7 separate regions of the Homo sapiens genome follow, and regions 1, 3, 4, 5, 6 and 7 are each linked to region 2. The links are contacts of gene promoters, found by promoter capture Hi-C in blood cells and fetal thymus (Javierre and others, 2016). All regions are on one chromosome and are shown on one strand. The core of a region is centred on a gene start or on the middle of the fragment in contact, and the rest is flanking DNA. Distances in the headings are between cores, read along the strand shown. Region 1 has its middle 1.6 kb from the start of AIM2. Region 2 holds the start of CD1A (CD1a molecule). Region 3 has its middle 19 kb from the start of AIM2. Region 4 has its middle 12 kb from the start of TRR-TCT4-1. Region 5 overlaps IFI16 (interferon gamma inducible protein 16). Region 6 has its middle 2.1 kb from the start of PYDC5. Region 7 has its middle 16 kb from the start of AIM2.

Evidence for each region. The method cuts DNA at HindIII sites, captures the fragments that hold promoters and counts their contacts. A CHiCAGO score of 5 or more calls a contact.
Region 1: a fragment that was not itself captured here is called in contact with the fragment with the promoter of CD1A in region 2 in 2 of 17 cell types (naive CD8 T cells and total CD4 T cells); the score reaches 6.2 in naive CD8 T cells.
Region 3: a contact is called between a fragment that was not itself captured here and the fragment with the promoter of CD1A in region 2, in 4 of 17 cell types (total CD4 T cells, activated CD4 T cells, M2 macrophages and 1 more). The highest score is 9.7, in total CD4 T cells.
Region 4: a fragment that was not itself captured here is called in contact with the fragment with the promoter of CD1A in region 2 in 1 of 17 cell types (activated CD4 T cells); the score reaches 5.3 in activated CD4 T cells.
Region 5: a fragment that was not itself captured here is called in contact with the fragment with the promoter of CD1A in region 2 in 1 of 17 cell types (fetal thymus); the score reaches 7.1 in fetal thymus.
Region 6: a fragment that was not itself captured here is called in contact with the fragment with the promoter of CD1A in region 2 in 5 of 17 cell types (fetal thymus, M0 macrophages, M2 macrophages and 2 more); the score reaches 14.4 in fetal thymus.
Region 7: a contact is called between a fragment that was not itself captured here and the fragment with the promoter of CD1A in region 2, in 1 of 17 cell types (naive CD4 T cells). The highest score is 6.0, in naive CD4 T cells.

The regions. Positions count from the first base shown.
Region 1 is chr1:159,077,065-159,079,764 of GRCh38, forward strand. It overlaps a transcript of AIM2 not described here. Among named protein-coding and RNA genes, the nearest start is that of AIM2, 1.6 kb to the left of the region's middle. RefSeq lists an enhancer at 144-443. The HindIII fragment of the contact is 4,181 bases long and covers 1-2,700 here.
Region 2 is chr1:158,252,982-158,255,681 of GRCh38, forward strand. It overlaps CD1A (CD1a molecule), which reads left to right and starts at 1,443. Exons shown (of 6, transcript NM_001763.3): 1 at 1,443-1,746; 2 at 2,103-2,369. The coding sequence starts at 1,689. The HindIII fragment of the contact is 5,152 bases long and covers 1-2,700 here.
Region 3 is chr1:159,094,420-159,097,119 of GRCh38, forward strand. It overlaps a transcript of AIM2 not described here. Among named protein-coding and RNA genes, the nearest start is that of AIM2, 19 kb to the left of the region's middle. The HindIII fragment of the contact is 6,509 bases long and covers 1-2,700 here.
Region 4 is chr1:159,128,208-159,130,907 of GRCh38, forward strand. It overlaps a transcript of AIM2 not described here. Among named protein-coding and RNA genes, the nearest start is that of TRR-TCT4-1, 12 kb to the right of the region's middle. The HindIII fragment of the contact is 785 bases long and covers 1,018-1,802 here.
Region 5 is chr1:159,023,816-159,026,515 of GRCh38, forward strand. All of the region lies in intron 6 of IFI16 (interferon gamma inducible protein 16), which reads left to right. Among named protein-coding and RNA genes, the nearest start is that of IFI16, 15 kb to the left of the region's middle. The HindIII fragment of the contact is 831 bases long and covers 1,015-1,845 here.
Region 6 is chr1:159,003,466-159,006,165 of GRCh38, forward strand. It overlaps a transcript of IFI16 not described here. Among named protein-coding and RNA genes, the nearest start is that of PYDC5, 2.1 kb to the left of the region's middle. RefSeq lists enhancers at 1,922-2,447, 2,448-2,700. The HindIII fragment of the contact is 4,916 bases long and covers 1-2,700 here.
Region 7 is chr1:159,058,961-159,061,660 of GRCh38, forward strand. It overlaps a transcript of AIM2 not described here. Among named protein-coding and RNA genes, the nearest start is that of AIM2, 16 kb to the right of the region's middle. The HindIII fragment of the contact is 1,298 bases long and covers 657-1,954 here.

The DNA.
Region 1 (2,700 bases), core at 198-2,697, 820 kb after region 2:
GAGGGTATCTAAAAGTGTTGCCAGTAGGGCAGTGCAGGTTCTTGTCTTCAAAGCATAAGAGAATCTGAAAATGAGACCCAAGCGAAAGTATAGACATTTTATTGTGGAGCAAAACCAACGACACCCTCAAGGGAGGAGTGCAGGCACTCAAAGATTTGAGTCACAGGCAATGTGGTTCACGTACTATATGAATAAGCACAATGAAGGTATGGAGTACTCTGTAATCAAGGGGAGGGGTTTTCTGGGAAATGGGCGGGCAATTCCCGGAATCGGGGTGCCACCCTTTTCTTGACTAAAGATGGTTAATCCGGAACTGTCATGGCGTCAGGTGCATGATGGGAGTGGGAATTTCCCCATGGAAGTTTTATGATATTAAGGGCATAATGAAGCTAAGGGTCAGCAGTCAGCCAAGTTTTCGACCATCTTGGCTTTAACCAGTTGCGGCCAGTTTCTTCTGTGTTACATTCTCATCTGTGCCTAAGTAGGAAGTTTGCAATCTGTCTTCATTGTCACAGGCTGTTGTAACAGTTCCTATCTACTAGTGGGGCAATCCCTCTGCTAACCTTTTTGACCGCATTTTTATTGCTTGTAGCCACCTGCAAGTAATCATGCCTCATTCCCTCACTGACTGCTTGCCTCAAAAGCATATATACAGTCTTTCTTCCTAACCCAGGCTCCTAACCCTAAATTCAGAGCTTGAGGGCTTGATTCTAGTCAGCAATTTACTTGAGGTTTTCCTTTCTTATTCATTGAATTAACAATTATGCACTGAACATCTAATATGATGTATTAGATTCTGAGAATATAAAAGTTAGTAAGACAAAGTTCCAGATGTTGAGCGGCTCTGCCAAGTCATGAAAACAGACATGTGATTTAATAATCACAATAGGACATGATGATAAGTGTTATAATTAAAGCATGCTCAAGATGCTCAAGGAGCAGAGGAAGAGCACCTAACCATGCCCAGGTAATCAGCCCAGAGCTGCAGGACCTCCTTCACTTTCTACTGCAAGGCTTGTTTCTACACTTTTGCCAGCTTTCAGCTCAAATAGCACCTTATCTGTGGGGCTTCTCTGACCAGCATGTTCTCTACCTCTTCCCCACATTATCTTTTCCCACACGTGTTACTGACCATCATCTGACATACGGTATATGTCATTTGTTTGTTTATTCTCTGCCTCATGCTCCTAAAATGTAAGGCACATGAGGGAAGAGATTTCTGCCCACTGGCTCACTGCATCCACTTCACCTGACACAGTGCCAGGCACAGAGAAGGTGTTCAGAAAATATTCGTTGAATGAGTGAATGCATGAATGAGTGGATCACACAAGGCGAAAGAACACCAAAGAGAACAATATGTAAGAATTAAAAAGATGTGAAGTGTATGAATTTGGTAACCTACTGAGTAAACGAGAGAAAGCTCCCTGTTGAGGAAGAACCCAACAAGCACCAACCCCAGAGAGGCGTACTGATTTGAGGCTTCAGGTCCTGTAAAAGGTGAGTTAAGTGATTAAGCTGGGAAGTGGTCTCAATGAGGAGCAGGTACACTGCTGCACCTGGGGCAGAGAGACAAGTACTCATCGTCCAGCTTTGTTTTACCAAGAAATTTAATCAGAGAGATACCCAACTTGGTGACACAAGACACAGAAGGGAAAGGAGGCAACTGTGCTGAAAAAGGAGGTTTGTTAACAGTCTCACGGAGAAAAGTGGGATCCCCAAGCCCTTTCCTCCCTGACTTCTAGAGTACTGACAGCAAGGTTTATGCCATAAGCAGAAGACTGGAGGCTCCTACTGTAGCAACTGGCCCAAGAAGGGAAAAACTCTCACCGTTACTGACATTTTGAGTTTTCCAATACAAAGACTCAGGCCCTTTCGTGCCAATCCTATAATTAAACTAACTCATAAATAAACCAGGCCAACGCAAAAAGAATTCAAGTCAGTTTTGTGTGTATACATGTATGGACATTTCTTTCTTAAATATGAGTAAACAGACATAAATAACATTCAGAAAAGCCTCCAACTTAAAAAAAAAACAGAAAACAAATCAGAAGAAGGAACTTAAGGACAAAGCAGAGGGTAGAAGAAGAAATATATATGGTCATCAGAGAGATAAGAAAAGACATTGCATCCATGAAACAAAAAGACAGTGCTAATACTTGTAAAAAATGAACAAATTACAGAAGAGATTTTATAAATATATTTTCTAAATGTGATAGCAGAAAAGTTTTAAAGCTAATAGAGTGATAAAGCTGAAGATCTCTTTCTAAAAGTATGCCTAGAAAAGAATAAAATGGAAAAACAGGAGAGAAAAAAAATAAGAAATATACAGGTTTATGCCCCGATGAATAATAACCAGCTAATAAGCATTTAAACAAGAGCGAATGGAGAAAAAAGCAAGTTATCAAATAAATACCGAATTTGATGAATGAGAAAGAACACACACAAAAGCATGTCACTTTGCATTTTTTTTCCAGTTTTTTTCTTTTTAGTAGACTTTATTTTTTAAAGCAGTTTTAGGCTCACAGTAAAATTGAGCTGAAGGTACAGGTTTCCATATACCCTTTTCCCTCACACATGCACAGCCTCCCCATTATCAACATTCCCACCAGGGTGGACTGAGCATGACACATCATTATCACCCAGACTCCAGAGTTGCCACTAGGGTACACTTGGTGTTGTACATTCTGTGGGTTTGGACAA
Region 2 (2,700 bases), core at 193-2,692:
AGCACTTTGGGAGGCTGACACAGGAGGATTGCTTGAGGCCGGGAGTTGGAGGTTACAGTGAGCTATGATTATTCCACTGCACTCCAGCCTGAGTAACAGAGTGAAACCCTGTCTCAAGAAAAAAAATTTTTTCCCCCTAAATTAGCTTCAGATACTTTTTTTTTGAAAACCAAAAAATAGTAAATAGCCCAGACACATTTATATGGATGATATCTACAAAGCACAAACATATATTTAGAAGCCCTTCAACAGTTACAAGCAGCGTAAAAGAGGAATGTAAATGTGTCCGGCAAAGACTCATTTATAACAAAACAACCCTGAAACATCCAAATAGGACTAATAAAAAGGGATCCTGGGATAAAGACTTTGGAATACTCCATTAACTTCACTGCTCACAAGTTCTGACTAGTTTCTTATAAGTAATAGGACATTTATAGCAGGATCTTTTATGTAAATCTCATGCCAGTAACTTGTACTTTTATCCTAAATAAAACTGTATGAGATTCTCATCTCACTACATAGGGTTACAAGTAACTTTTATGATATCTTTAAAAAGTTTCATGTTGAATATCACCTCCATAATTAAAAAATGGATGCATAGACTGAATTCATTCATTCATTTGACAAATATTCACTAAGCACCTACCACTTGTGAGATACTCTGTTAGGTGGGGATACAGTATGATAACTGTATGGAACTAACACTCCAAGTCAAACATTGAAGTCAAAATTCTGGGCTGGCGTACATTAGTTAGGAGCCCCCATTTTAGAAAATATTATTTCAAGCAGGCCTTGTTTTTATCCAGAGAGTGTATACAGTATAATAAAACTCAGTACACCAAGATTTATATTTCATGGCGTGTTTTTCTCCCTAAGTAGAGAAAAAGCTCCTTCAGTAAAGTGATTGTGTTGTCAACCACTGCATATTCTTAAGTGTACCAAGATGCTTGACTCCAGGCAGGTGCTAAGAGAGACTGTTGGGTGAGTGAATGTATATCAATGAAAATCAAACAGAGGAAATTTTCTTTATATGTTTTAGTGTTCCTGTGGTTTTTTTTTTTTTTTTTTTTTTTTTTTTTTTTTTTTTTTTTGTGATGGTTACTGGCTCTTCTCTAAGAATAATGGAGAAAAGGTGTTAGTTTGTACTGTCGCACAGGGCAGTCGTAGGAGACTCTGAAAAAGCAAATAAATCAATGTTAAATCAGAAATGTGAATGTAGTAAGGGGCTGAAGAGACAGGGGAAGAGAATACATGGGAAAATATTGAAAAGGACAGAGTGATCAAAAAGAGCAGGGACATGGGAGCATTGGGCAGCACACTGGGAGCCATTTCACTTTATGCTCTTATTGTATGATTGAGAAAAAAATGTCCTTAGTGGTTAAGTGGCTTTTCAATGCCACATCAGACTTGTTCCATAGCAGTTGAATTAGGGGAAGGTGAATAAGTTGGAGGTTGGTGACAAGGAGAGAAGCTGGAACAGAGAGGAGAGTCAGAACCAGAGGGAAATGAGAGACTGAGTAGGCATCTCAGGGTTTTTGAAGGAGTGGATTTTCTTTGTTGCAGTCAGGGGAGGTTTGTCTGTTGGCTGCAGAAAGAAGTCAGAATAGAGATATCGTGGGGTAGGTTTGTTTGGAACAGAAATCAAAGACCAATTTTTCTGAGAGAAGGAAATAACATCTGCAAATGATATGCTGTTTTTGCTACTTCCATTGTTAGCTGTTCTCCCAGGTGATGGCAATGCAGACGGTAAGAACTCTGACAACTGCCCAGTTGGGTGGTGGGTGAAGGTCTCTCTCTCTCTCTCTGTGTGTGTGTGTGTGTGTGTGTGTGTGTGTGTGTGTGTGTGTGTGTGGTTTCCCTAGCATATACCTGGAAAGTGAGAGTGCCAGGCTGGTTCCATTCTGACTATCCATGACTCCAGGTCCCTGAGCTCTTATGAAGGTGGTTGATAAGGCATGGGACTGTGTGGCAAGTGAATGTCTGCTAAGATCATGATGGATCCCCTTTTCTCCAGATTCTGAGTTCCCGCACTCTGGCACCTTTCTCTCTCCATCCTCTTTCTCAATGTCTTTCTCCCCATTCTATCTGTTCTTTTGTCGCAGGGCTCAAGGAGCCTCTCTCCTTCCATGTCACCTGGATCGCATCCTTTTACAACCATTCCTGGAAACAAAATCTGGTCTCAGGTTGGCTGAGTGATTTGCAGACTCATACCTGGGACAGCAATTCCAGCACCATCGTTTTCCTGTGCCCCTGGTCCAGGGGAAACTTCAGCAATGAGGAGTGGAAGGAACTGGAAACATTATTCCGTATACGCACCATTCGGTCATTTGAGGGAATTCGTAGATACGCCCATGAATTGCAGTTTGAATGTGAGTTCAGTTTTCTCCATGGAGAGTGGTGAGGTGGGAGAGAGGGGTTGTCTCAATGTTTCTTATTCCTTTAGGAAACAGCCTGACTCTCTTCTGTATCTTATTCTATTCTTTCCACCATAAAACTGCAATTGCATACTTTTGGGCAAGGGCTATCATCCAGACCTTAATTCTCCAAACACTTCTGCTACTTATGAACTCCTCTCTCATTGATTGCAGGGTTGTGCATTATTATCTTTTCTTACAGGTATCCCAGGACCACCCTTCTGCCTGCCCTACAACCAGATACCTTCAGCTTTCTCACTTTCTCATTCATTCTCTTCAGCAGTCT
Region 3 (2,700 bases), core at 65-2,564, 840 kb after region 2:
GGTGCAGTGGCTCATGCCTGTAATTCCAGCACTTTGAGAGGCCGAGGTGGGTGGATCACTTGAGGTCAGGAGTTCGAGACCAGCCTGGCCAACATGGTGAAACTTTGTCTCTACTAAAAATATAAAAACTTAGCTGAGCTTGGTGGCGTGCACCAGTAATCCCTGCTACTCGGGAGGCTGAAGCTGGAGAATCGCTTGAAACTAGGAGGCAAAGGTTGCAGTGAGCCAAGATTGCATTACTGCACTCCAGCCTGGGCGACAGAGCGAGACTCTGTCTCCGAAGAAAAAATGAAAAGAAAACAAATCAAATGTTCTCACTGAATTTTTTTAAGTATTGGTAACTTGACATACCATACAAATTTTTTGCAATGATTTATGAAATTTACATTTTAAAAATCAACTTTCCAAAATTGAGAATGTCATTTTACCTTTTTGCTTTGTATGTCTAATTTATTTGGGGCCAATTATTCTTAGTCTAGGCTGCTTATGCGAAAAAGGTAAAAAAAAACCCTGAATATCAAAAAAATTATTATTTCTTTTATTAAGCCCATTTCTTTTTGTCTCTGTTACAAAAGCGGGCAATTTAAATCATTACTGAAAAAAAATCCAGAAAATGTAGCCAAACAAAAGCAGACAAAGAACAACACTCATAATCCCATCATCCAGAGAGAGAAGCACTACAGGTATTAACTCTTCTGCAGAAATCCCTTCAGATCATTTTCATTGCTATCCGTAAATTAATATAATTATGGAAAGTGTTTATTTTTGTTGTACATGCTTTATCATCAAGCATTATAGTCAGTCTAAATCAAAAGGAAGAAAACATTTAAATCTATCCCTTCTCTCTGTCTCTGTATCCTAAGGGATTTGTGAAATGATTCAGCCATTTCCCCGAGGCAGAAAAAAAAATAAAGCATGATAGAGAATAGTTTTTGTTACAAATGTCAACTCGAATCAATTTGGTAGTGGTTGCATGTACTTGAGCCATGAATTCTCAGTACTGAGGGCTCAGGAAGAGAAAGGTGAAGTAAGAGCATTGAGACCTTGTATCTGCCACCCGGGCCTACAGGGCCTCTGCTTATGTGACAGCTGTTACCTCTGTTTCCCCAGCTACGTGCTCAAGAATGCTCTCTGCTATGTTCTGCACTTTTTTCTGGACCTTCCTCCTTTGCTGAAAGATACCTAGTTTACTCTGTCTGATATAGAAAATGTATGTAAATTAAGAATTTTAAGGTACCACGTTTGTCTTGAAGTGAAAAAAAAATACTCTTAAAATATTATAAAGGATGCTTGGAAATCTGTAGTGGTTAGAAGTATTTAACATTTTAGTCTCTTAATTGGCAATATCATACATTGTATATTATCAAGAGTTCCCTAAGAAGGTAAGACCACTGAAAAGGAGAGCCTCAAAATTTCAATTCAATGCTTTATACTGGTGACTATGGATGTTCATTTTTCATTTCAGGGATATTATAGTGAAAGGAGGGATCAAATTGAGAAGAAATTGCAAAGAGTATGGAATTAGACTAGGGTCTCATATATTAAATCTCAATAAAATTTGAGACATCACATAATAAAGGTCCATTTTCATAAAATCTCATGTTACCACAAGCCAGATTATAAGCTGTCTTGGTAGAGTACATCTGGGCTTTGGGATGACTCCACTACCAGAGACAAGGGTGCTGGTTCCTGATTCAACATAAACACAATGCTACTGTAGGCTGAAAAGATCCTTCTTTAATTAGTTGTCCCAGCCTTCTCCTTTGTGCTTCAAGACAGGCAACTTTGTGTAGTAGAAAAAGCAGACACTTAAAACATTTTTAATGCATCTTCAAATCCTACTTCATTCACTAGCTAGTTGGCCTTGGGAGGGTTACTTAGCCTCTCTCTCTCTGATTCTTGTCTGTAAAATAAAAATATAATGCCTATCTTGCAGTAATGTTGTGAAAAGAAACAGGATAATGTGTGAATCACCTAGCACAATGAATAGCTCATAGTCTGAGCTTAATAAATGTTGGATGTGTCATGTATACCAGGGGAATAATAATATAGTATTTAATAAGTAAATTGCTATTTATTTTCATTTTAAAAATTTTATGGATTTTGGTGCTCTATATATCCACGGGCTCCTTTTCCAGCTTTAAGAGACAATTTAAATTTATTTCTTTGTAAGACTGCCTCTCTAAACTTTTCATAATTTCTGTGGCTTGCCATTTCTTTCCTGAGGTATGATCATAGACAGAATTGCAAAAGGCACTCTCAAGGCAGACACACCATGGCTCAGTAGACTCAGAGCTGGGACCAACCAGAAGAAGAATGCCTGTAACTATTTGTAGGTACCAGCAGGCTGGAGAGCACAGGTATGACATGGGCTGCTTCAAGACTTAGAGGTAACTTTCATTCCCTGAGGGTGAAGGATGATGGGGGGAATGGGGGGTATACAGAGACTAAACTGGCCTTTAGCGACAAAAACAAACAAAAAGTATTCCCTTCATCCTTCGATATTGTCACCTGCTTGTGATCTAGGTGATTTCCTACTCATTAGGTTGCTCTGAGATTTAGGCAGCTCCAAGGCACAGAAAATCTGGGATTGTAAAAAAGAAAATAAAGTCGGGAAGTAGGCAGATCCCTACCTCTCTTTCACCCCTACAAGGGCATGAATTCTTGAGCTGCAGGAGACAGAAAAGTCTGAATTCTGCC
Region 4 (2,700 bases), core at 160-2,659, 880 kb after region 2:
CCACAATAAAATAATTGCTTTGTTATAAATTGTCATCTTATGTGCCAAGGCTTACACACACACACACACACACACACACACACCACCCCAAGCCCTGCCATTTTTCTGCATGACTCTGGGGTTACACGAGTGGCCTGTCCAGAATCCCGTCCTCTCTTTCCTTTGAGTTTTCTATCTCCATTAAACTTCTATTTGCCTTTACTGCAACCACTAATCCAGATTTTTTTGTGTGTTTAAAGTAATAAATATTCTGTACTTGGAGAATGGCCTAGTATCGTTATAGCGAGTTCACTCAGTTACTCCCACTCTTTTGACTGCTTTTGACCAAGCCAGTAGTCCTCTATCCGACTTCTTCACCTCTATGGCCTTCCATGGAAAGCCACTTGCCAGTATCCTAACCCCCTCTGCCTTTGTCCTTCCTTCCCTCCCACACCCCCTCTTTCCAGGATCTAGATACTTTAACTCTCAGCTTCCTCAGTGTTTGCACCCGGGCTGCTAATCATTGCTAGGGAAAATCACACAACTATAAATTCATGACAATAAACTTCATCTGGTTCTCCACACTGCTCCACAAACTACATTTCCTAGTCAGCTCACTCTTCATATTTTAATAATGATACTTCAAGATTTCTTCACTCCCCTTATATGTTTGATCCCTCTACATTGGGACACATTCTCAGCAAATAACCCACATTGTTACCTCACAGAAATTATCAAGTCCACTTGTCAGAAACTCATCCAATCTCCTAACTGCAGTGGATTGAACAGTGGACCCCAAAAAGACATGCCCAGGTTTTAACATTTAAAACCTATGAATGTGACCTCATTTGTAAAAAGCATCTTGCAGATGTAATTAATGTAAGGATCTTGAGATGAGATCATTGTAGATTTAGGGCGGGCCTGGAATCCAATGGCAGGCATCCTTACAGAGAAATGCAGAGAGAGATCTGAGACACAGAAAAGATGGCCAGGTAAAGACAGAGGCAGAGTTTGGAAGTATGCAGACCCAAGCTAAGAAGCTTGTTCAGAGGAGTGAAAATCTGCTTACATCTTGACCTTGATTTTGGACTTCTGGGTTCCAAAACTTTGACAGAATAAATCTCTGTAATTTCTGAGGCACCCAGTTTGGGGAAATTTGTTATGGCATCTCTAGAAAATTCATGATGCTAACTAAGCTGACAACTGCATTTGTACCTGCTCTATCCACCTTCTCTTCAGTTACAGTACTAAGGGTTGAGTCTACAGCCAGGTTGTGAACCCAACAATAGGACACTGTGGTTAATGGTGCAAGTCTCAAGCTAGATTGACTGGGTATCAATGCTGTCTCCACCACTTACTATGTGATGTTGGTTACTCAGAGTACCATTCTATGCCTCAGTTTCCTTATCTCAAAAAAACAGGATAACAATAAAAAGTACCTCTGTAGGAGAGGCTGTGTAGGAATTAAATGGAATCATGCCCTCAGAACAGTTACTGAATAAGAGGGGAACAACTTTCATTACTACTATTATCATTATCTCTGACTGCCTCCTCAAATACTAAACTATCTATTGATTACTCCTCTCTCTTGTTCCTTCAATGTTTGTCTTTATGAGATAACTTCCATGAGCATTTAAACATTCACTACCATTCCCTGTCAAACAAACCACTCCCTAAACCACACACTTCTCCCTCCAGCTCCCATCCCATCCACTAACTCCATTTCACAACAAATGTTTTAATTGTATACACTCCTTGCTTCTCCTTCCTCACTTCTCACTCACTTGGGAACTCACTAATGTCCACTTCTGTCACTCCACTGAAGCTTCCCTTGACAACCCATGTATTACCAAATCCTAAAGGAAACGTCGGCCCTTATCAGCAACATTTGACACTATGGCTCGTGCACCCTTTTTTAAAAGCATCTGTTCATTGATTCTGGCCCCAGCCCTCCTAGTTTTCTTCCTGCCTATCTGGCCAGTCTCATTTGCTCGCTTCTACCTCCTCTGATGATTCCTTAAATGATGGGTTCCTCAGGGCTTCTTCTTAGCCATTCTTCTTTTCTTATTTTACCTTCTATGAGATATTGACCACTCCCAAGACATCAATTTACTCACAACAGACTGATCATTCCTAACTTGTATTTCTGACCTAGATTTCTCTTCACAGTTCCAGGCTCATATATCTAGCTGCCCATTAGACATATCTACTGGTACATATTTGACACCTCAAATTCAACATGTCTAAAGTGGAAATACTCATCTTCCCTGGCCTTTTTGAGAATCTACTTCCACTACCTATCCCCTTTCTCATTAAAAGGCACTTCCATTCACTCATTTGCTCAAGCCAGAAAGCCGGGAATCATCCTGGGCTCTCCTTTTCCCTTTGCCTCTTACAGCTGATTTCCACTGAGTCTTATTCATTTGATATATTAAATGACCCTCAGTTTTATCCTCTTCTCTCTCTTTCTCTCCACTTCTCTAATACAAGCCAACACCATATCACATATACCCTCAAACTGTCTCCAACCTAGCTTCCCTTCAGTCTTTCTCCAAATTCTTCTGGAATAATCTTTTCAAACTGTATTCCAAACTATAAATCTAAGCCTGGTCACCACACACACACACACACACACACACACACACACACACACACACGCACGCACTCTTCAAATCTGTCATTGGCTGGTATTTTCTCTTAGGATAAAATCCTAACTCCTTA
Region 5 (2,700 bases), core at 180-2,679, 770 kb after region 2:
CCTTTTATGCTTCTAAGGAACACCAAATTTTACTCTTGCCGTGAGAGGCACAAAGTAAACTTGGCATTCAGAGGTGGAAGCAGGCTTGCCCTCGGGGGCGGACCCCCGGGGTATTGAGTTTCAGGAAATAACAGATAGAGAGCTCAGCATGATGGATTATCCTAAACTGTGGGATTTTGCAAGAGAGCCACCATATGTCCATTTCTGGTCAATGAGGAGACCGTCCGAGTGGAAAGGGGATAATCTGGCCCTCTGGGCTACCATGCGTACAAGCGTGATAATAATTTTTATTTAAAGTGCGAAGGGAATATTTAATTCATTCCAGCCAGGCATTTGCATCTTGATATTTTGTCTTAATGGCTAAGGTCTGTCTTAGATGTCTTATTTTTACAATAGACAACCTAGTTTTATTATTAGATGTAGGGGCAACTGGTGTGGGATCTAGAACCGAGGCTACTGAAGAAGGGGAAGATGGGGGAATAATGCGTGTTTTAAAAACACCTAGGGGGTCTTTTTCATTTATGTCAATCCCCATGCCATCTAAGCGACCAAGGGCAGGTCTAGAGTTAGTTAAGGTGGAGGTGGTGATAAAGAGAAGGACAGAGTTACATTGATAAGGGCTGACAGTTAGAAGGGGTAGCCCTTTTGGTGAAATAGATGAAGGGTTTTAGATCTGCACAAACCTTTTTTGTGGAAGTCTAACTTTGCTCTTGAGTAGTTTAAAGGATGTAGTCCCATTTACTACAAGGTTGCCAGGCTGTAGGAGCAGAAAATCGATGCCTTGGCTGCAGGTGCTCACAATGATGAGTGCTACGGGTAATTGTGTCAATTAGAGGGCCGGGACATAAATATTTGTGTGAAAAGGCTAGCTGTCGTTAATCTTTTTTTATTTCCACAAAGTATGAGAAAACAAGCATTAAAGACAATGGTCTAAGGTGAGTTAGACTTAGTTATATTTATAACAAAGGAGCTAATAACAAAAGAAAAAAATATATAAAAGATGTATTAAAATGAAGCTTTCTTTAACTTAGAAGGGCTTAATCTTAGTACAGTAACCCATAATTCTAACGAAGAAGATGTTTTCTTGACTCAAATATGATGGGTCCATTCTTTCTCAGCTGTGCGGACGGCGGTCTCAGTGGTTAATACATAAAATAGGGTCCTTCCCAGGCTCGAGTTTTTTTTTTTAATCTTTTTTCATCTTTTAATAAGAACATGGTTTTCAGGCTGGTGCTGGTGTACTGGAAATTCTAGGGGTGGTACCTGTGCTAAAAGACTTTTAGTTCTGAGGGAAAAGAAAGTGGAAAATAAGCATATAATTTTTGTTGCATATCCTGGGGCTTGAAGCCCCATGGTGACGCCTCCCGCTCCATTCCTGCTCAGCGCCGCCCAAGGGATGCTGTGGCCCTGGCCCCTCTTGAAGTCTTGGCCTTCTTGTGGCCTTCACCACCCCCGCGTGCTATGGCCTTGGGGATGAGGGGCATTGTGACTTACCTGGCCACCCTCGGGACTTAAAAAAAAATAAACACCATTTTATATTTGACTATTTTTTGTATAATTTTATACTAAATAAGTTAAATTTTACCTTTATATTAATGTGCTATTAATGTTAAATTTAATTTTAGTAAAATATTGTAGACATTATTTATCCAATTTTAATGTCTGACCATAAAGTAAAACTTTTATAGACTCATTTTAATTTTTTATATTTGTTTTTTTCTTGATGATTTGCTTGAGTTCCTCATAGATTCTGGATATTAGTCCTTTGTCAGATGCATAGTTTGTGAATATTTTCTCCCACTCTGTGGGTTGTCTGTTTACTGATTATTTCCCTTGCTACGCAGAAGCTTTTTAGCTTAATTAAGTTCCATCTATTCATCTTTGTTTTTGTTGCATTTGCTTTTGGGTTCTTAGTCCTGAAGTCTCTGCCTAAGCCACTCTCTAGAAGGTTTTTCCGATATTATCTTCTAGAATCTTTATGGTTTCTGGTCTTAGATTTAAGTTCTTGATCCATCTTGAGTTGATTTTTGTATAAGGTGAGAGATGAGGATCCAGTTTCATTCTTCTACTTGTAGCTTGCCAATTATCCCAGCACCATTTGTTGAATAGGATGTCCTTTCCCCACTTTGTGTTTTTGTTTGCTTTGTCAAAGATCAGTTGGCTGTAAGTATTTGGGTTTATTTTTGGGTTCTCTATTCTGTTCCATTGGTCTATATGCCTATTTTTATACCCAGAACCATGCTATTTTGGTGACTATGGCCTTATAGTATACTTTGAAGTCAGGTAATATGATGCTTCCTGATTTCTTCCTTTTGTTCTTTTTCCTTAGTTTTGCTTTGGCTATGTGGTCTGTTTTTTGGTTCCATATGAATTTTAGGATTTTTTTTTCTAGTTCTGTGAAGAATGATGTTGGTATTTGGATGGGAATTGCATTGAATTTGTAGATTGCTTTTGGCAGTATGGTCATTTTCTTTATTTCTTTCTTTTTTTTTTTTTTTTGAGACGAAGTCTCGCTCTTGTCCCCCAGGCCTGGAGTGCAATGGCGCGATCTTGGCTCACTGCAACCTCTGTCTCCCGGGTTCAAGCGATTCTCCTGCCTCAGCCTCTCGAGTAGCTGGGATTACAGGTGCTTGCCACCACGCCTGGCTAATTTTTGTATCTTTAGTAGAGATGGGGTTTCACCGTGCTGGCCAGGCTGGT
Region 6 (2,700 bases), core at 201-2,700, 750 kb after region 2:
TCTCTGTTACCTAAGCAATCCCTCCTCTGTTTTGCTCTTTTGTGATTCTTAGGCTGGAATCACGTTTTGGCTCTATCAGCCTAAGGAGCAGTTAGCCACCTGTCACTGAGTTAGGGAACAAAAAGACCAAGGCGATAGGTATTTGCACCATAAACTTCTCCTATCTTGTATGTCCATAATTCTGTATTATTATTATTATTATTATTATGTTTTGAGACGGGGTCTCGCTTTGTCGCCCAGGCTGGAGTGCAGTGGCATGAGCTCGGCTCGCTGCAAGCTCCGCCTCCTGGGTTCACACCATTCTCCTGCCTCAGCCTCCCGAGTAGCTGGGACTATAGGCGCCCGCCACCATGCCCAGCTAATTTTTTGTATTTTTAGTAGAGACGGGGTTTCACTGTGTTAGCCAGGATGGTCTCGATCTCCTGACCTTGTGATCCGCCCGCCTCAGCCTCCCAAAGTGCTGGGATTACAGGCGTGAGCCACCGCGCCCAGCCAATTCTGTATTATTTTGCATTTCTGACACTCATGACTTGATACCTTAAACATTCAAACACATAGAAGCACTTATTTGTGTGAACAGCAGTTTCTTTCCTTGAACCAAAGATTGTCAACCCTTAATCTAAAACATAAAAGGAAATAAAATTCAAACACCACTTCTCCATTACTTGTAAATTTTATTTCTCTCTTCTTAATATATTAATACCCAAATTCCAGCCAAAATATTAAGGATGGATGTGGTGGCTTATGCCTGTAATCCCAGCACTTTGGGAGGCTGAGGTAGGTAGATTGTTTGAGCTCTGGAGTTTGAGATCAGCCTGGGCAACATGGCAAGACCTTATCTCCAAAAGAAAAAAAAAAGGTTAAGAAATCTAAATTTCAGTTAATTTTGCCCTTATTGCTAAGTAAATCTGAGTAAATTATAGATGTTAGTAATTTGGGGTAAGAATTCCCAAAACCAGCCGGGCATCGTGACTCACGCCTCTAATCCCAGCACTTTGGGAGGCCGAGGTGGGTGGGTCACTTGAGATCAGGAGTTTGAGACCAGCCTGGCCAGCATGGTGAAACCTTGTCTTTACTGAAAATACAGAAATTAGCCAGGCTTGATGGTGCATGCGTGTAATTCTGGCTACTTAGGAGGCTGAAGCAGGAGAATCACTTGAACCTGGGAGGCAGAGGTTGCAATGAGCCGAGATCGTGCCATCACAACAGAGCAAGACTCCGTCTCAAAAGAAAAAAAATTCCCAAAACCAGATGTTTAGGGTGGAGAGTTCATTACTGACAACAGTAGAGAATCTCATCTTCAATTTTAGAGATAAATTATATCAAGGGAAATTTTGACAGCCAAAGTGAAGTCCTGAAATTAAACAGAGTAAAGAAATTATCAATCTAGTAAAGATCCTCAAAGAATGCTTTCTGGAGAACAGTTTTAGATAAAATAAGCAAATAAAGAATGAAGATAGCAGAGATAAAGCCGGAGAAGTAGAAACTATCAATGTTTTTACCCCCTTCAAAAATAATGTTGAAACTTAGTACCCAATGCAACAGTGTTGGGAGCTTGGGCCAAATGGGAGGTATTTAGATCATGAGAATTTCACTCACGTAAATAGACTGATTAATGCCACTCTAACGGGCATGTAGGGGGTGAATTCGCCCCGTTTGTCATGTGAGGACACAGCAAGAAGGCCTCACCAGATACTGATGCTTGACCTTGGACTTCCACCTCAAGTACTGTGAGAAATACATTTCTGTTCTGTATAAATTACCCAGTCTATAGTATTCCATTACAGCAGCACTAAATGGACTAAGACAGTGGGAAAGTATGCATGTCCATTACAGGGAGGGTCAGAGAACAGGAGTTTTCATGAACCAGAAACTTCTTTCACTCATATTTTCTCCATGAGACATGCAATAAACAGATGAATGATGCCAACTCTGGCCTTGTACAGTATATCATGACTGGTTCACATCACTCCCCAGGTTTCCATATGCATTCACTCTCCTCTCCTGCCTCAACACTGAGTCTCTTTTATTCCACTCCAAAGTAAAGAGGTCATCCCTAGAACTACAGAAGCTCTTTCTGCCAACAGAGTTGTCTGGAGTTTATGGCATTAGCTTTGAGCAACAGGAAAAGTAGAATACAAAACTGCAATACAGAAACTACAAAATTTCAAGGAAGGACTGGCTGAGAGAAGCCTTGAGGTTGGAGGGGAAGGAATGGCATTGTTGTGAAAACGTGTTCTGGGAACTGAGCTTAAATTGAATTGTAGGAGGCTGCAGTCCCACTGGAAAATGCATACTGGCACCAAGATGACTGCTGCTTCCAGGAACATCCTCCCACTCCTTAGCAATGTGGAACAGATTGAAGGAAGCTCAAACAATCCATTTAAGCAGGAAGTAAATAGATTAAGAGAGCAACCAGATGGCCTAAGGCACTATCGGTATAGCTATCCCCACCCCTCAGCGCCCCCATCAGCTTTTCCTTCCTTGTTTCTTCTCACTGTCTGAAAGACTACTCAGGCGTGCACTGCGAGGTGGAGATCTGACTTCTCTTGTTCCCGCTTAAGACTGCCTCCTGTGTAAGTTTCTGCTATCTAGATCTTTGACTACCAACCAGCCAGGAGTGGTCTGCCTCTTCTTTGGTCTGAGCTTGCCTTGTGCTTATATTGTTGTACCCAAGCGAGTTAAGAAAATACCCCACAC
Region 7 (2,700 bases), core at 56-2,555, 810 kb after region 2:
GCGCAAACTTCTGTGGCTCCACCCCAGTGCACACTCTGCCCAGTGTGCGGGCTGGAGTTTCTCTGGGGACCCCTTCCCATCTGGCTGTCTCACTACTGCGAAGGTCCAAAGCTATCTATGCCCAATAAGGAAAAGAGACGTTAAAGTTTACCATTGTGGTCTGCCGTCAAAGAGTGAAATAATAAAAACGTACTGTTTTACACTACCTTTCTGCTTATGTGTCTTTCATTATAGTAGGCTTAGATGCCAATTAGACATTTTTATATTTTTTTGCCCAATGCTATTCTTATACACACACACACACACCAAACACACACACACACATATATATATCTGTGTATGTATATGTGTGTGTATATGTGTTTAAGATTATTTTGCTCATTTTGGGAAACCAGATTCTGAAGAAACTTCAGATGCTACAGAAGCCAGTTTTCTCATCTTTGAGAATACTGAAGTTCAGAGAGATTGAGTGAAGTGGTCAAAATCACAGTATCACTCAGCTAGTTAGGAACAGATGCCATACTAAGATGTCATAGACTGCTAAAACTGCCTCTAAATTCAAATTTGACTTAATGAACTCTAAGAAAAAGGACTGTTTTATACACAGATGATGTTTGTATTCTCAGCTAGTCTAATATTTCATATCACTTGAGGTAAGCTTTCTGTAATTGCCTATTCTTGAGTACCCTGGATGATGGTGATTTGGAGTTAGTGTCATTTAGGTGGGCTGCTACATCCCCACCTTTGCTTGCTTTCCTTAACATCATGCTGATTCCCCTTTGAACTGTACTTCCTAAGGACAATCTATCTTTAAATGAAATAAGAAAAAAATTACCCTCTGCTCAAAAGAATTTGCCTCTTCAATTTTGTTTTCACTTCAATAGCTTCATCCTCTAATGCCTTGATCGCACCGTGTCATATTTTTCCACCTTACCACATATCAGAGCTTCTCCATGGGACTCAAATCAAGCAGATGAGAAGCTGGAGCTTCCCCTAGATCTGTAGTGTGTAGACCAGAGAGGATAGAACAACTCACAGAGATGCTAATCTGTCCTCATAAACATTTTACAGACCAGTTTGTATCAAGTGGTTTTGAGGTATGCAATAGCACCAAAGCCGACATTTTAGGTTAAATACCTATATGTGGAATTACTGGGTCAAATAATATGAACATAATTACTAGTAATGTTGCCAAACTGATGTTTCAACTAACACTTCTGAGGACATTTTCCTTAATCATATCATCATCACATTCACAAATCCTGGACATTATTAACCTAACGGATAAGGAATATTCATTGTTTTAAAGTCCCTGATTTCTGTGAGTCTCTTTAAAGTTTCATCTTTCTTATTTATTATAAAAGCAATGAGTATTTATTCCAGAGAAATAAAAAAAAATCAGAATATCAAAAACATCCATAATTCTATCTTCCAACCTGATGCATGTTTTCCATGTTTATCATGGCATAATCTACAAACAATCATACTTATTTCTGTGAATTTTTACAAATGCATGTAGTCATGAAACTACCACAAAAGTTAAGATAGAGAATAGTTTCATCATAACAAAAATTTCCTTCCTGCTGCTTTGTTGCCGGCCTTCCTCTCAACTCCAAGCTCCTAGAAACCACTGATCTAGTCTTTACTATACTTTTGCCCTTTATGGAATGTCATAAAATGAAATTAAAATGTATGTAGAATTTTGAGTCTGGCTTCTTTCACTTAGAGTAAAGATCTATCCATGTAGATGTGGGTGTCAGTAGTTATTCTTTTTATTGCAGAGTACAATTCAATTATGTGGATCTACCAAAGTTTGTTTATTCATTTTTCAGGTGAGGGATAATCGAGTTTTTTGCACTTTTGCATAATTACAAATAAACTTTCATGAATATTTACATGCAGATTTTTGTGTGAACATACATAATTATTTCAAGTGGATAAAAAACTTACAGCAAGCTTGCTGTGTCATGTGGTAAGCATATGTTTAAATTTATAAGAAATTTCCAAACTCTTTTCTAATGTGACTTTTCATTCCCACCAGCAATAAGTAAGAGTTTCAATTGCTCTGTATCCTTCTCAGACCTTAGCATTGTAGATGCATATTAAGTTTTTAAAAATGGACAAACTCTTTTGCATAAAGGTTATACCATTTGACATTCCCACCAGCAGTGCACAAGAGTTTCAGTTTTTCCAAATCTTTGTCAGCACTTGGTATGGGTAATCTATTTTAATTTAAATTTTAGCTGTTCTAATAAATATATAATGGCATCTCACTGTAGTTTTAGTTTCCATTTCCTTAAAGATGAATTATGTTGAGTGTATTTTTATGTGCTTATTTGACATCCATGTATCATCTTTTTGCCCATTTTAAACATTTAATTGGTTGTTCTGCAATTATTGAATTTTGAGTGTTCTTTATAAATTCTGGATACAGGATCTTTTTGTTTTTTGAGACAGAGTCTTACTCTATCACCCAGGCTGGAGTGCAATGGCGCAATCTCAGCTCACTGCAAACTCCGCCTCCTGGGTTCAAGTGATTCTCCTGCCTCAGCCTCCCGAGTAGCTGGGATTACAGGTGCCCACCACCGTGCCCGGCTATTTTTTTTTTTTTTTTTTTTTTTTTTAGTAGAGATGGGGTTTCACCATGTTGGCCAGGCTGGTCTCAAACTCCTGACCTCAGGTGATCCACCCGCCAGGGCC